3 separate regions of the Homo sapiens genome follow, and all the other regions are linked to region 1. The links are contacts of gene promoters, found by promoter capture Hi-C in human tissues and cell types (Jung and others, 2019). All regions are on one chromosome and are shown on one strand. The core of a region is centred on a gene start or on the middle of the fragment in contact, and the rest is flanking DNA. Distances in the headings are between cores, read along the strand shown. Region 1 holds the start of PIRT (phosphoinositide interacting regulator of transient receptor potential channels). Region 2 overlaps MYHAS (myosin heavy chain gene cluster antisense RNA). Region 3 overlaps MYH3 (myosin heavy chain 3).

Region 1 (3,906 bases), core at 464-2,963:
CAGTTGGTATTAAGAGGGTTGTCAGATTTAGAGAATAAAACTACAAGGTGTCCAGTTACAGTTCAGCCTCAGATCAACAACGGATAGTTTTTTTCATGTAAGAATGTTCCAGTATTGCATGGGACCAACGCATGCAAAAAATGTATTTGTTGTTTGACAAATTCAAATTGAACTGGGCATCTCGCAATACATCTGGCACCCCTAATATTGTAAGAGATCCCGCTGTGCTGCTGTGCTTGGGCCTGGAGTTATCTGGCCCTTCCTGAGCTTCTGCCCCTCAGGCCCCACCATCTAGAGAGCTCTGATAGCACCTGGGCTGTTCTGGAAGTTGCAAGAGCTGAAAGCAGAGGAGAGAGGCACACATTACCTCACTGCTGGGAGGCTGGGCCCAGCGAGGGGAGTCTGGGGGAGAAGCGGGGAAGGCAGGATGGAAGTGGTGGGAATAACACCATGTATTATTCCTGTGGAAGACCCAGAGTGGTAAGAAGTGGAGGGTCCTCCTGTTTCCCTCACGGAGTCCCCATTAAGGCCCCACCCAGCTCCAGCTTGCCAGTGGTCATCCCCACGGTCCCTTATCTTCTCTGGCGGTGCTGTCTTCCCCTCACCAGGACATTCAGTTGGTGACTGTCCACCCCTCTGATAAGGTGAGTGGGGGCCAAGTGTCTGGGCTAATAGAAGCTAGAGGGTTTCTGAGTAAGCCGCTGCTGTCACCATGGCCATGGCCACCCATCTGTCACCTGCTCATAGCGCTTCTAGGAAGGGAAGTTTCCCAAAGGTCACAGTCAACCTAGAGGGTGCCACCCACCTCCCTTGTTGGGCCACCCGGCTGGTGCCCAGACCCTGGCCAGTGACAGGGTAGAAAAATAGCTCGGGCGATTGCGTGTGTGACCACGGCTGGCTTTACCCGGATGCAGGGTTCTCACGGCACACAGTTGCCTGACTGAGCCACGTCTTTGTCCGTGTTTGCATGTGCCTGCCTTGTTCCCCCTGTCTGAGATAAAACTCCCGAGGCAGCCAACGCACTCCACCTTGTTTTTCTGGCACCTGCCCCAGACACCTGCCACAGCTGCAGGAGGAAGACATTGGCAGCTGCAGAGGTCTGACACAGGGTGCTCAGGAGGACGGCTGGGGTCCGAGATTCCACCCATGTACTCTGGGGTCTGGGGGTGGCCTTGCACTTTCCTGTCTGGCTTTTTTGCTTCTTCCACTTAGATTTGGGAGGAGAGTCCCTGCCCAGCCCTTCCCACAATGGCTGCTAAGAGTGAAGGCTGGATGCTATAGACGCAGGACTGAAGCAGCTCTCTGCCCACAAATTCCCTTCTTCCCAGTACACAGCAAGGGGCGGCCCCCCTTCCTCTGGCCACCACTGTCTGCCAAGACCCTCAGCAGGCAGTGCCTCCAGGCTGACTTCACCCCCTCCCAGGGCATAGCCCCCTTTTCTCCGCTTGTTGTTCATGCTTGCCTTCCAACCCCAGTTTAAAGACAACACGCTCCAAAGCAAAGTTAAAATCTGCTCCTTCCTTCAGCGAGATGGAAGGAAGGGCAGAAGGAAACATTCCCTCCTTACTTACTGTCCTCGATGTCCCAGGGGAGGATGGGGGACCTGGGAATCACTTGGTGCTCGTGCAAGGAGGAAGCCGGCAATGAGTTTCTGCTCAAGTCCATGCCAGCCAGAGAAAGCCACCCTGACCACGTCCAGAAGTCAGTGTGTTGTGAATCCCAGCAACTGAGCAGGCTCCAGCAGGGATGGATGAGCTCACCAGGCAATGGCCTAATGGGTTAACTCTTTGTGAGCTGCTGGCATGGGTCCTCGGACTGTGGCTTTCTCAGCTCTGCTCAGCCACAATTAGATGAATCTTGTGAAAAATTCATGATGCTTCTCTGCAGTCTGTCTTCAAGTTTCATGGAGGCGTGCGTTCCGTTGGTGCCTGGGCAGGGCAGCTTCTCCTGACCCAGGCTCAGAAATCAGAGGACCTGGAGTTTCTGGGTTGGTGGAGGTGTGTAGTGGCCATGGTGGTGGGGATGAGTTGCCAAAGAGTGGATCAGACCCTCCGGCTGACTCAGGCTACACTGGCTCTGTTCAGTGCAGGCCTTAATAATTTGATCTGGGAACTCTCTGTGTTCTGGATGTTGGAGGGGGCACATGCAGACTTAGAAAACATCCTTGGTTGCAAGATGGCAGGGACACTTCTTGGAACTTTCCAATGCACGGGTGGGCACCCTATGTTACAAACTGCCAGGAGCCCACAACACGACTTACCTCCATCCCAGGCCTGACATCTCAAATAGAGGCAAAAGAGCTTGTTCCCCATCGCTCTTCCAATCATTCCTCATGGTGCCCTGTTGCTTTTTATGGGATGCCTGCTGCCACAATGATGAGAAGAGAATGATGCAAATCAGTGCAAGGAGGATGAAAAGGTTTTCTCCTCTATAAACCTTTACCAGACTGTGCTTCGGGAAGCTGGGTGTGAGCTGTTGAGTGGCCAGTTCTCAAGATGCTGACGGATACACTGAGGTCAGCAAAATTGCCTATGATTCTGGAAGGCATGCTGGCTCCTGCCCTGGCCCACACTAACCTGAGAACGTGGGCAGCTGTTGTTCCTCAGGATAACTGGTGGGTGGGCATCCTTGCTACTGGGAACAGTACCCTGAGGGGCTTCCTCTGTGGTCTGCCGGGAGGGCTTTCCTAGGAGCCATCCAAGGAAGCTGCTGTCAAGGCAGGTATGAGACTCTCCCATATTTGGCATCTTGAGTTCCTCATCTGTGCAATGAGCAGGAGATTCTGAGCCTAGAAGGCTCTGTAGAGGTTGCTGTGTGATCCATGCCTAGAGAAGCAGAGAGCTAGGAGGATGAGCCTGTCCCCTGAGCTGCTGTGAGGGATCAGGCTGAGTACGCCCTCTGTCCTCTGTGAAGATGAGCGTCTCTGCTCAGGGCAATGAGCAGGGAGAGGCCTGCCTTGAGTGTCCAGGGGAACTTGACTTTGAAGGTTTTTGAGGATGTGAGTTGCTTTGCCTTAGGTGCCTCTGACTTTATACTCAAATCAGTTTGTAAAACCAAGTGGCCTGGCTCGCAGAGGAACCCTAGAGTGAATTATTTTGCAATGCAAATAATCAAATGATTTATTTATTTATTTTTACAAAGTTCGGGCTATTCCCCCACCCTCTGCAGGGCACGGCAGTGTGGCAGAGTAATACCATCCTAAGTTAAACCCTTATTCATCACTCCCTCCATGTCAGGCACTCTTCTAAGCACTTTATATATATAGCAATTCACTTATTTCCCATACAACTCCATGAGGTAGCCATGTGAGGTATATTGCTATCTCTGTATTTGGCCTTGGACGAATTACTTCTCTGGGCCTTAATTTCCTCATGTATTCATTGAGTGGGATCATTACTACATCACAGAGCTTTTATGAAGATTAAATGAGAAAATGCTCATAGCAAGTGCTTAAAGAATATATACATAATATATATGCACATAATGCACATGTGTATAAGTACATATTTAAATATAAATGTAAATTGGAGGGGCAGCAAGCATCAGAGGAGAACATGTCCGGGGTAGAAGCTGTTCTGTCTGCAGACCCCCTTCCTAGCAGGACAGATGAGGAGGCATGAGGAGCCATCATGGTCCCTGGGCAGCTGACTCCAGTGTCCCGGGATGAAGAGGCCGCTACTGCAGCTGTGGTGTTGAAGGGAATGGGAGCAGGGATGGTCACTGCCTGGGGATGGCTCTTAGCCTCTTATCCACAGTGCCCTAACTCTCCACCCTGTAGCTGCTCCTGCTCAGCGCTGTGCCCCCTCACCTGGCCAGTCCAGTGTTGCACGAGACAGTGGTAAGGTAGGATGACCAGCCATCCAGGCTCACTGGGTACTGATGGATTTCCTGAAATGTGGGACTTTC
Region 2 (3,906 bases), core at 668-3,167, 230 kb before region 1:
AAAAAAAATTAGTCAGGCGTGGTACCTTGTGCCTTTAATCCCAACTACTCAGGAGGCCGAGGCAGGAGGATCACTTGATCCCAGGAAGTTGAGACTGCAGTGAACCCCAAATGCACCATTGCACTCCAGCCTGGATGAGAGAGTGAGACTCTGTCTAAAAAATATAATTAATTATTAATAATTAATTATTATTAATTAATAATTATTAATAATTAAATATTTAACATCCAACAAAAAATTGAATTGGTTTGAAAAATTTTGCAAAACTATTTTAGACATTTTTTAAAGAAAGGGACCAAAAGATACATGTCCAATTGTTGATCTAGGTTAACTTGGGGGTTGGGGTTGGAATTGAAATGAGAGATGCGATATAGTCTTCTTTAACTGTCTCTGTATTGCCTGACTTGTTAAATGAATACCTATTACTTTTTTAACTTTTTAAGCAAATTCAAGAAAGAAAGAAAGTTAAAAGAATTATTTTGCGATGTGTTTTTAAAAAGCAAGGCTGTTTCATGAAGTGGAATACTTTTATCTCACTATTTTTTAAATTATATAAAATTTTTAGTTGAACTTAAAAAAAAAAAGAAAAAAAAAAAGACAAGGTCTCATTCTGTCACCCAGGCTGGAGTGCAATGGTGCGATCATAGCTCACTGCAGCCTCGAACTCCTGGGCTCAAGCGATCCTCCCAGCTTGGCATCCCAAAGTGCTGGGATTACAGGCATGAGCCATCGTGTTTGGCCCTTGGGCTTTATTTTATTAACAACTTAGCAAATTCCTTCTGCCAATTTTCTTTGTGTCTGCATCCCTAAGAAACATTGAGTTTTGCATTTGTCTCTCAATAGGAGAAGGCAGGCTTTTCTGTCATAATCAGATATTTCTACCCAAGGAATTCATGTATATATTTTTGACTCAGTGGCTTCAATGGCTTAAATAACTTTATTTTTCAACTATGAAGTTTCAAACTGACAGAAAAGTTTGAAAACATAATTTAATAAGTCTCCATGACCCACCATCTAGATTTAACAAATGTCATTTTTCATATTTGCTTCAGATCTTTAAAATAATTGCAATAATAAAATACTGTACTTATCTCCTGCCTTCATCCAGGAGCAACTGTCTCCCTAAAGTTGGTGTGTATCTTCCTGCCCAGTGCTTTACACTTTTATTATATGTGTTTATGTCCATAAGCACTAGGCACTATTGTTTTATATTTTAAAACTATACCTAAATAGTATGGCACTATACATATATACATATATATATTTTTATATATATTAAAAATATATATAAATATATATTTATTTTTTTATATTTTTATATATATTTTTATATTTTTAAATATATTTTTATATATAAAAATATATTTTATATATTTATATATAAACATTTATATTTATATATAATATATATATTTATATATAAAAAATTTATATTTATATATATAATATATATATTTATATATATATTTTTTGCTGCTTTTCATCAATTTTTGAGACATATATAACTCTTATTCATTCATTTTCATGGCTGTATGGCATTTCATATATGACTCTACCACAATTTATCTATCCTGTTTATCCAGTTGATGGACATTCAACGTACTTCTAATTTTTCTCTATTATAAAAAATTAAGCATTGAACATCCTTCTTTATGTCTTCTTGTGCACTGGAATCAGAATCCATCCAAGGGACTTTCCTAGGAATGGAATTGCTAGGAAATTAGTTGGTTGAACAGTCTTTTTAAATATAAAAGTGAGAGAGAAAAAGAGAATTGAACAAGGTCTTAGGTTTTCTTTAGATTTGTTGGTTTAGATAAGGATTCCAGGTCATCTCATTTTACCAGAGTACAAATTCTCCAATTCCTTTCATCGCTTTTCTCCCAAATTTAAAAACTGGGAAACCTCTTAATTAAAGCCCTGATTATGGAGAATTTGTTCAAACTCAAAGAACTAACTTATCTTGAAGCTCAACTGAGACAGGTGAATACGTTGTTTTTTTCTCTCCTTTCTCTCAGAATATTGAGTATCACTTTAGAATATATTAAACAACCTATCAAGATTAATGAGCTTATTCAGAAAAGAAAATAAGTCCTGGTAAGTAGAATAATAAATTTAAAATTCTGAATCTTTAAACCCAGGCTGAAAGATGGCCTCTAGTGTAAGCTGCATTACTGTGCTGTGACTTTATGAGCCTTCTGTAATGGTATTTTTCCCCTCCTGCTAGATCAATTTCAGCGTGTTTGGACCAGCAGATTCCAGGTGATGGATAGGCAGCTTCATTTTAATAGTCTGTTGGTACAGGGTGACCTGTAGCCTTTCCAGAAGAGGTAAAATGAATCCTCCGGTTGTCACCCCCTCCTTCCTCGCTCCAATTCCATCATTAATCCCCGTTTGAGGATTTGAGTGCTGCCGAGGACTGACAGACTCCATGAGGTTCAGCTGCTGCCTGGTACATGTGGTCACCTGCAGCTTCTTCAGCCCTACATGTGAGTAACTCAGGACAAAGGTCTACAACACCTGCCCTAAATTTCCCCAAGTCTTCCCAGCACTCCCAGTACCTCAGTCTTCTGTGTTTTAAAGTGTGATACATGCACAAGGCGTGATGTACAGCAGGAGCTAAGGTGGTCGACTGCGAAGTCCATCGCATCTTAATTGTTCTTAATTTTAAGGTGTATTTTACAGATTTTATTGCTGAAGACAAGGCTAAACAGCATTACATTTTAAAAATCATTTTTTAAAAAAAGTACATAGAAGCCGGGTGTGGTGGCTCACACTTGTAATCCCAGCACTTTGGGAGGCCAAGGTGGGTAGATCACTTGAGGTCAGGAATTCAAGAACAGCCTGGCCAACATGGTGAAACCCCATCTTCACTAAAAATACAAAAATTAGCTGGGCGTGGTGGCGCACGCCTGTAATACCAGCTACTCAGGAGGCTGAGGCAGGAGAATCACTTGAACCCCAGAGGCGGAGGTTGCAGTGAGCCGAGATCACGCCACTGTACTCTAGCCTAGGTGACAGAGTGAGACTCTGTCTCAAAACAAGTAAATAAATAAATAAGTTAAAAAGTACATAGAGATGCATGTGGCTGTGACAGTATTGGGAAGACTGTATTCAAATGACTAGATCTGGGAGACACTGATTGAAGCAAAGCACACTCTGACTTAGGGTCCTAGATAAGTCCCTGAATTTATGTGAGTGAATGTTTTCTGGGCACATTCTTTCAGTTCCTTGGGTCTCAGTTTAGCCCCTGGAAAATGCAGGCATTGGACTAGATCAGGGATTCTCAGCCCTGCCTTCACCTTTGAATCACCCGGACAAATAATGAAAAATGCTGGCATCTGGGGGCCCTCTTCAAATCAATTTCATCAACAACTTAGGGTAGGGACAGGGTTAGGCCAGGCATCAGTATTTTTTTTTTTTTTTTTGAGACAGAGTTTTGCTCTTGTTGCCCAGGCTGAAGTGCAATGGTATGGTCTTGGCTCACCGCAACCTCCACCTCCCGGGTTCAAGCGATTCTCCTGTCTCAGCCTCTCGAGTAGCTGGGATTACAAGCTTGCGCCACTATGCCCAGCTAATTTTGTATTTTTAGCAGAGACGGGGTTTCTCCATGTTCGTCAGGCTGGTCTTGAACTCCCGACCTCAGGTGATCCACCCTCCTCAGCCTCCCAAAGCGCTGGGATTACAGGCGTGAGCCACCGCGCCCGGCCAGCATCAGTATTTTTTAAAAGCTCTCCCAGTGATTGTCATGTGTAGGTAGCATTGAGAGTCACTAAGTAAGGTGATGTCTGAGGTTCCTTTCAAATCTAAGGTTGACTGATTTTCTGATCCCATGGATAGACTGTAAATGCAAAGTAAGTTCTGATTCAGTAGCAGTGGAGGAGGCTCATTGTCCCTTTCAGGCTCAGC
Region 3 (3,906 bases), core at 683-3,182, 210 kb before region 1:
GAGACGGGGTTTCACCATGTTGGCCAGGATGGTCTTGATCTCTTGACCTCGTGATCTGCCCGCCTCGGCCTCCCAAAGTGCCGGGATTACAGGCGTGAGTCACTGCGTCCAGCCTTTACCATGTATTTTTAAAAGATAAGGACTATCTTAGAAAGCATAATCACAAAATCACATTATACCGTGAAATGAACAATAATCTCATGTCACCATCAATATCCAGTCAATAGTCAAATTTACCAATTGGACCGTGTGTGTGTGTGTGTGTGTGTGTGTGTGTGTCTATTTTTTAACAGCGTGTTTGTACAAAGCAGTATCCTAACAAGGTCCACACAGTGCAATTGGCGGATAGGTCCACTAAGTATCTTTTAATCTACAGGTCTCCCTTGTATTTGTTTTATATTTTTTCTTTGCAATTTATTTATTGAAAAAGCTAAATGATTTGTTGAGTTCCCCCACATCTGGAGAGAACACCCCTTGGCCTTTCATTCTCACCTGAGTCAAACTAGGTCCCCTAATCTTCTGGAATCAGACAAAGAAGGGAACTTGGCAGCTATTGCTAATAAATTTACTGATGACAATAAACAAAGGATCCCAGGCTAGAAGATGCTCTTTCTAGTAGCAAGTCAACCAGATAGTTATTTGACTTCCTGCCTTCCTTCCCTCTTAAGGTAAAGACAAGGTTATCTTGGGTCAGGGGTGGGATTTTCTGTTGTGCAGCTTTGAAATAGTGCACACTGATCTAAGATAACAGTAGTAGATTTAGACTGAGCGCTTGAAGGGGCCAGCCTCTTTTTTATTCATTTATGTATTTTTGATAGCACAGTGCTTACATGAACAGCTGCCCAACAAATATTTACTAGATTTCAGATGTATTTCCCCACTAGAATGTAAAGAAGGAGAATGTGGGCCTTTGCTTTATAACCTTATTCAACTCAAGACAAGGGCTTTTCATGAGCCTACCTTTGTGTTTCCTTCATGTCATATTAAGAGATGACTCTTTTGAAAAGCTCTCCCTCCCATTCCCCACCAAAGCAAAGGTTAACCCGGAAGTTTTTTTTTTTCCTTTTTGATTTAAGCCAAAAGCCATCTCTCCCTCCGCACATGCACACACCAATTGAATTTACCGAGCCATCTGCTTACAAAGCTTTCACCTCCGAGCATACAAACCATCAAACTAGGAACCATTTCTGCATGGGGAAGAGGAAAACAAATACAGCAAAGCGGCCCCAGATTGAAACAAAGCAAAGTTTATTGCATGTGAAAAAGAGTCACATGGACATTAAGTATCAATGGTCAGGAATCAAGAAAATATACATTTTGCATATCTTCTGTCCTGCTCCAGAAGGGCTGGCTCACTCTTCACTCTCGTGGACCACCATCTAGGAAGAAAGTAGGCACCTGGAGTCAAGTCGGGTGGCAGAGACACATTCCCACCCACCACTTCTGCCGGCTGGCATCAGAGTTGCTTGCCTACTTCAGTGGGACACAGGATATTTTTTGGACCTTGGGAAAACGCACGATTGCACACATGAAGTCACCCCATAGCCTGAGAAACTGGCCCTCCGAAAGAGCAAGCCCCAAACGCTGGAGACCCAGCGACCTACTGTCGGATGCTGTGTGTTCAGCGGGCTCTGGAGGGGGCTCCTGCAGCAGCCTTTTGTTACCAGCAGGGGGCGCATGAAAGAGCTCAGTGGGACCCGCTCGCTCCTTTTCAGGATGGCGGTTTGTTTTGTTTTGTTGGGATACATGTGCAGAACGTGCAGGTTTGTTACATAGGTATACATGTGCCATGGTGGTTTGCTGCACCTATCAACCTGTCATCTAGGTTTTAGGCCCCACGTGCATTAGCTGTTTGTCCTAATGCTCTCCCTCCCCTTGCCGCCCCCACCCCCGGAAAGGCCCCGGTGTGTGATGTTCCCCTCCCTGTGTCCACGTGTTCTCACTGTTCAACTCCCACTAATGAGTGAGAACATGTGGTGTTTGGTTTTCTGTTTCTGTGTTAGTTTGCTGAGAATGATGGCTTCCAGCTTCATCCATGTCCCTGCAAAGGACATGATATCATTCTTTTTTATGGCTGCATAGTATTCCATGGTGTACATGTGCAGGATGGCGGTTTTTATTGTGACTCACAGACCAGGATTCTAGCGAGGGTCCAGTCAGCTAAGTGACTTTAAGCACTTTCTCTTCCTGAGCCTGAGACTCCCCAGCTCTAAAGTAAAGGGTTCTCTGAGGTTCCTTCCAGCTAAGAAGTTTCTACAGTCCCTGGGGGGGGGCTCCTCCCAGCTCAGCGACTCACCCTGCTGGAGGTGAAGTCTCGAGTCTTAGCGCGGAGCTTGTTGACTTGAGATTCTGCGATATCCGCACGTTCCTCGGCCTCCTCCAGCTCATGCTGAGCCTTTCGGAATTTGGTGAGATGAGCATTGGCTTGTTCATCCTAAAACCAAAGAGCCCAGGCAGGTTATATCAGCACGCGCCTCTCTCAGAACTCACCACGGGAAACAGCACGGTCTGCCTGCCGCAGTCAGCACCTATCTCACTTACAGCCTCCTCCGCCTGCCTCTTGTAGGACTTGACTTTCACTTGCAGTTTATCCACCAGATCCTGCAATCTCAGCACATTCTTCCTGTCCTCTTCACTCTAAGAATGAGAAAGTGGGAATGTCACTGGAGAGGAGGGGGCAGATTTGCACACGGCATGGGCAGCTTTCTGGGCCAAAGTGTTTCTTCCTGTGGTTTGATGGAGAATCTGCACGTCACAGAGGACACGATCATGGCGTTTGCGTTCCACTTACCTGGTACGTCAGCTCCTTGACCCTCCGCTCATACTTCCTCAGGCCCTTAACAGACTCTGTGTTCTTCTTCTGCTCTCCCTCAAGTTCAAACTCCAGCTCTCGGATCTGGGGGAGAGGGTGGGGAAATTAGTCTGGGGCTGCAGCGTGATTGGGAGGCTGGAAAGCTCAGCGCAGGCGGGGTTCCTCCTGCACACACCCTGGTCTCCAGTTTCTGGATCTGCTTCTTCCCGCCCTTCAGCGCCAGCTGCTCGGCCTCATCTAGACGATGCTGCAGGTCCTTCACCGTCTGTTCCAGGTTCTTCTTCATCCGCTCAAGGTGGGCGCTGGTGTCCTGCTCCTTCTTCAGCTCCTCCGCCATCATGGCAGCCTGAAAAGCACATGGGACTTGCTAGGATGCAGAGGAAGCTCCAGTGCCTTGGAACTGTCAAAACCTGGGGACCTCGGAGGACCAGAGACCATGCTAAAGAAAAAGGACAGGCCAGGCGCGGTGGCTCACGTCTGTAATCCCAGCACTTTGGGAGGCCAAGGCGGGTGGATCACCTGAGGTCAGGAGTTCAAGACCAGCCTGCTCAACATGGTGAAAGCCCATCTCTACTAAAAATACAAAAAATTAGCTGGGCGTGGTGGCAGATGCCCGTATTCCCAGCTACTCCGGAGGCTGAGGCAGGAGAGTTGCTTGAACCCAGGAGGAGGAGGTTGCAGTGAGCCGAGATCTCGCCATTGCACTCCAGCCTGGTCAATAAGAGTGAAACTCCATCTCGGGGGTGGGGGAAGAAAGAAAGAAAGAAAAAGGACAACGGGTGAGACTGTGATGAAGCACACTCTGCCACCCTGGAAGAGGGCCAGAGCTACACCCAGTAGATAAAATAACCTAATCAATGAGGCAATGAGAACTTTAGCGACAGGCTGGGAAACAGTTTCTTCCCTTTCTTAAGCTGGCCTCCTTTGAAACTCTCCCCTGCCCCAGGGAAATTCTTTTTTCATTACCACCAATATATATTTTCAAAGGAGCTTGAGACTTAGAGTAGTCTGACTTGATACTCAGCCTCATAGATTTGGGGATAGTGAGATTAAGGGAAGGCCTCTGGAGAATTAAGGCTGTACAGGAACAACAA

The links. The method cuts DNA at HindIII sites, captures the fragments that hold promoters and counts their contacts. A contact is called where the count stands out against the background at its distance.
Region 2: a fragment that was not itself captured here is called in contact with the fragment with the promoter of PIRT in region 1 in 1 of the 25 tissues and cell types used here (spleen).
Region 3: a contact is called between a fragment that was not itself captured here and the fragment with the promoter of PIRT in region 1, in 1 of the 25 tissues and cell types used here (lymphoblastoid cells).

The regions. Positions count from the first base shown.
Region 1 is chr17:10,836,374-10,840,279 of GRCh38, forward strand. It overlaps PIRT (phosphoinositide interacting regulator of transient receptor potential channels), which reads right to left and starts at 1,714. Exons shown (of 2, transcript NM_001101387.2): 1 at 1,572-1,714. RefSeq lists an enhancer at 525-1,026 and a silencer at 2,723-2,947. The HindIII fragment of the contact is 18,169 bases long and covers 1-3,906 here.
Region 2 is chr17:10,606,130-10,610,035 of GRCh38, forward strand. It overlaps MYHAS (myosin heavy chain gene cluster antisense RNA), which reads left to right. Exons shown (of 11, transcript NR_125367.1): 7 at 2,016-2,094; 8 at 2,225-2,486. Among named protein-coding and RNA genes, the nearest start is that of MYH3, 49 kb to the right of the region's middle. The HindIII fragment of the contact is 5,127 bases long and covers 1-3,906 here.
Region 3 is chr17:10,627,301-10,631,206 of GRCh38, forward strand. It overlaps MYH3 (myosin heavy chain 3), which reads right to left. Exons shown (of 41, transcript NM_002470.4): 37 at 2,988-3,158; 38 at 2,792-2,896; 39 at 2,542-2,637; 40 at 2,297-2,434; 41 at 1,232-1,379. The coding sequence ends at 1,353. LOC124903927 (a long non-coding RNA gene) reads left to right here and starts at 3,332. Exons shown (of 3, transcript XR_007065620.1): 1 at 3,332-3,368. The HindIII fragment of the contact is 9,087 bases long and covers 1-3,906 here.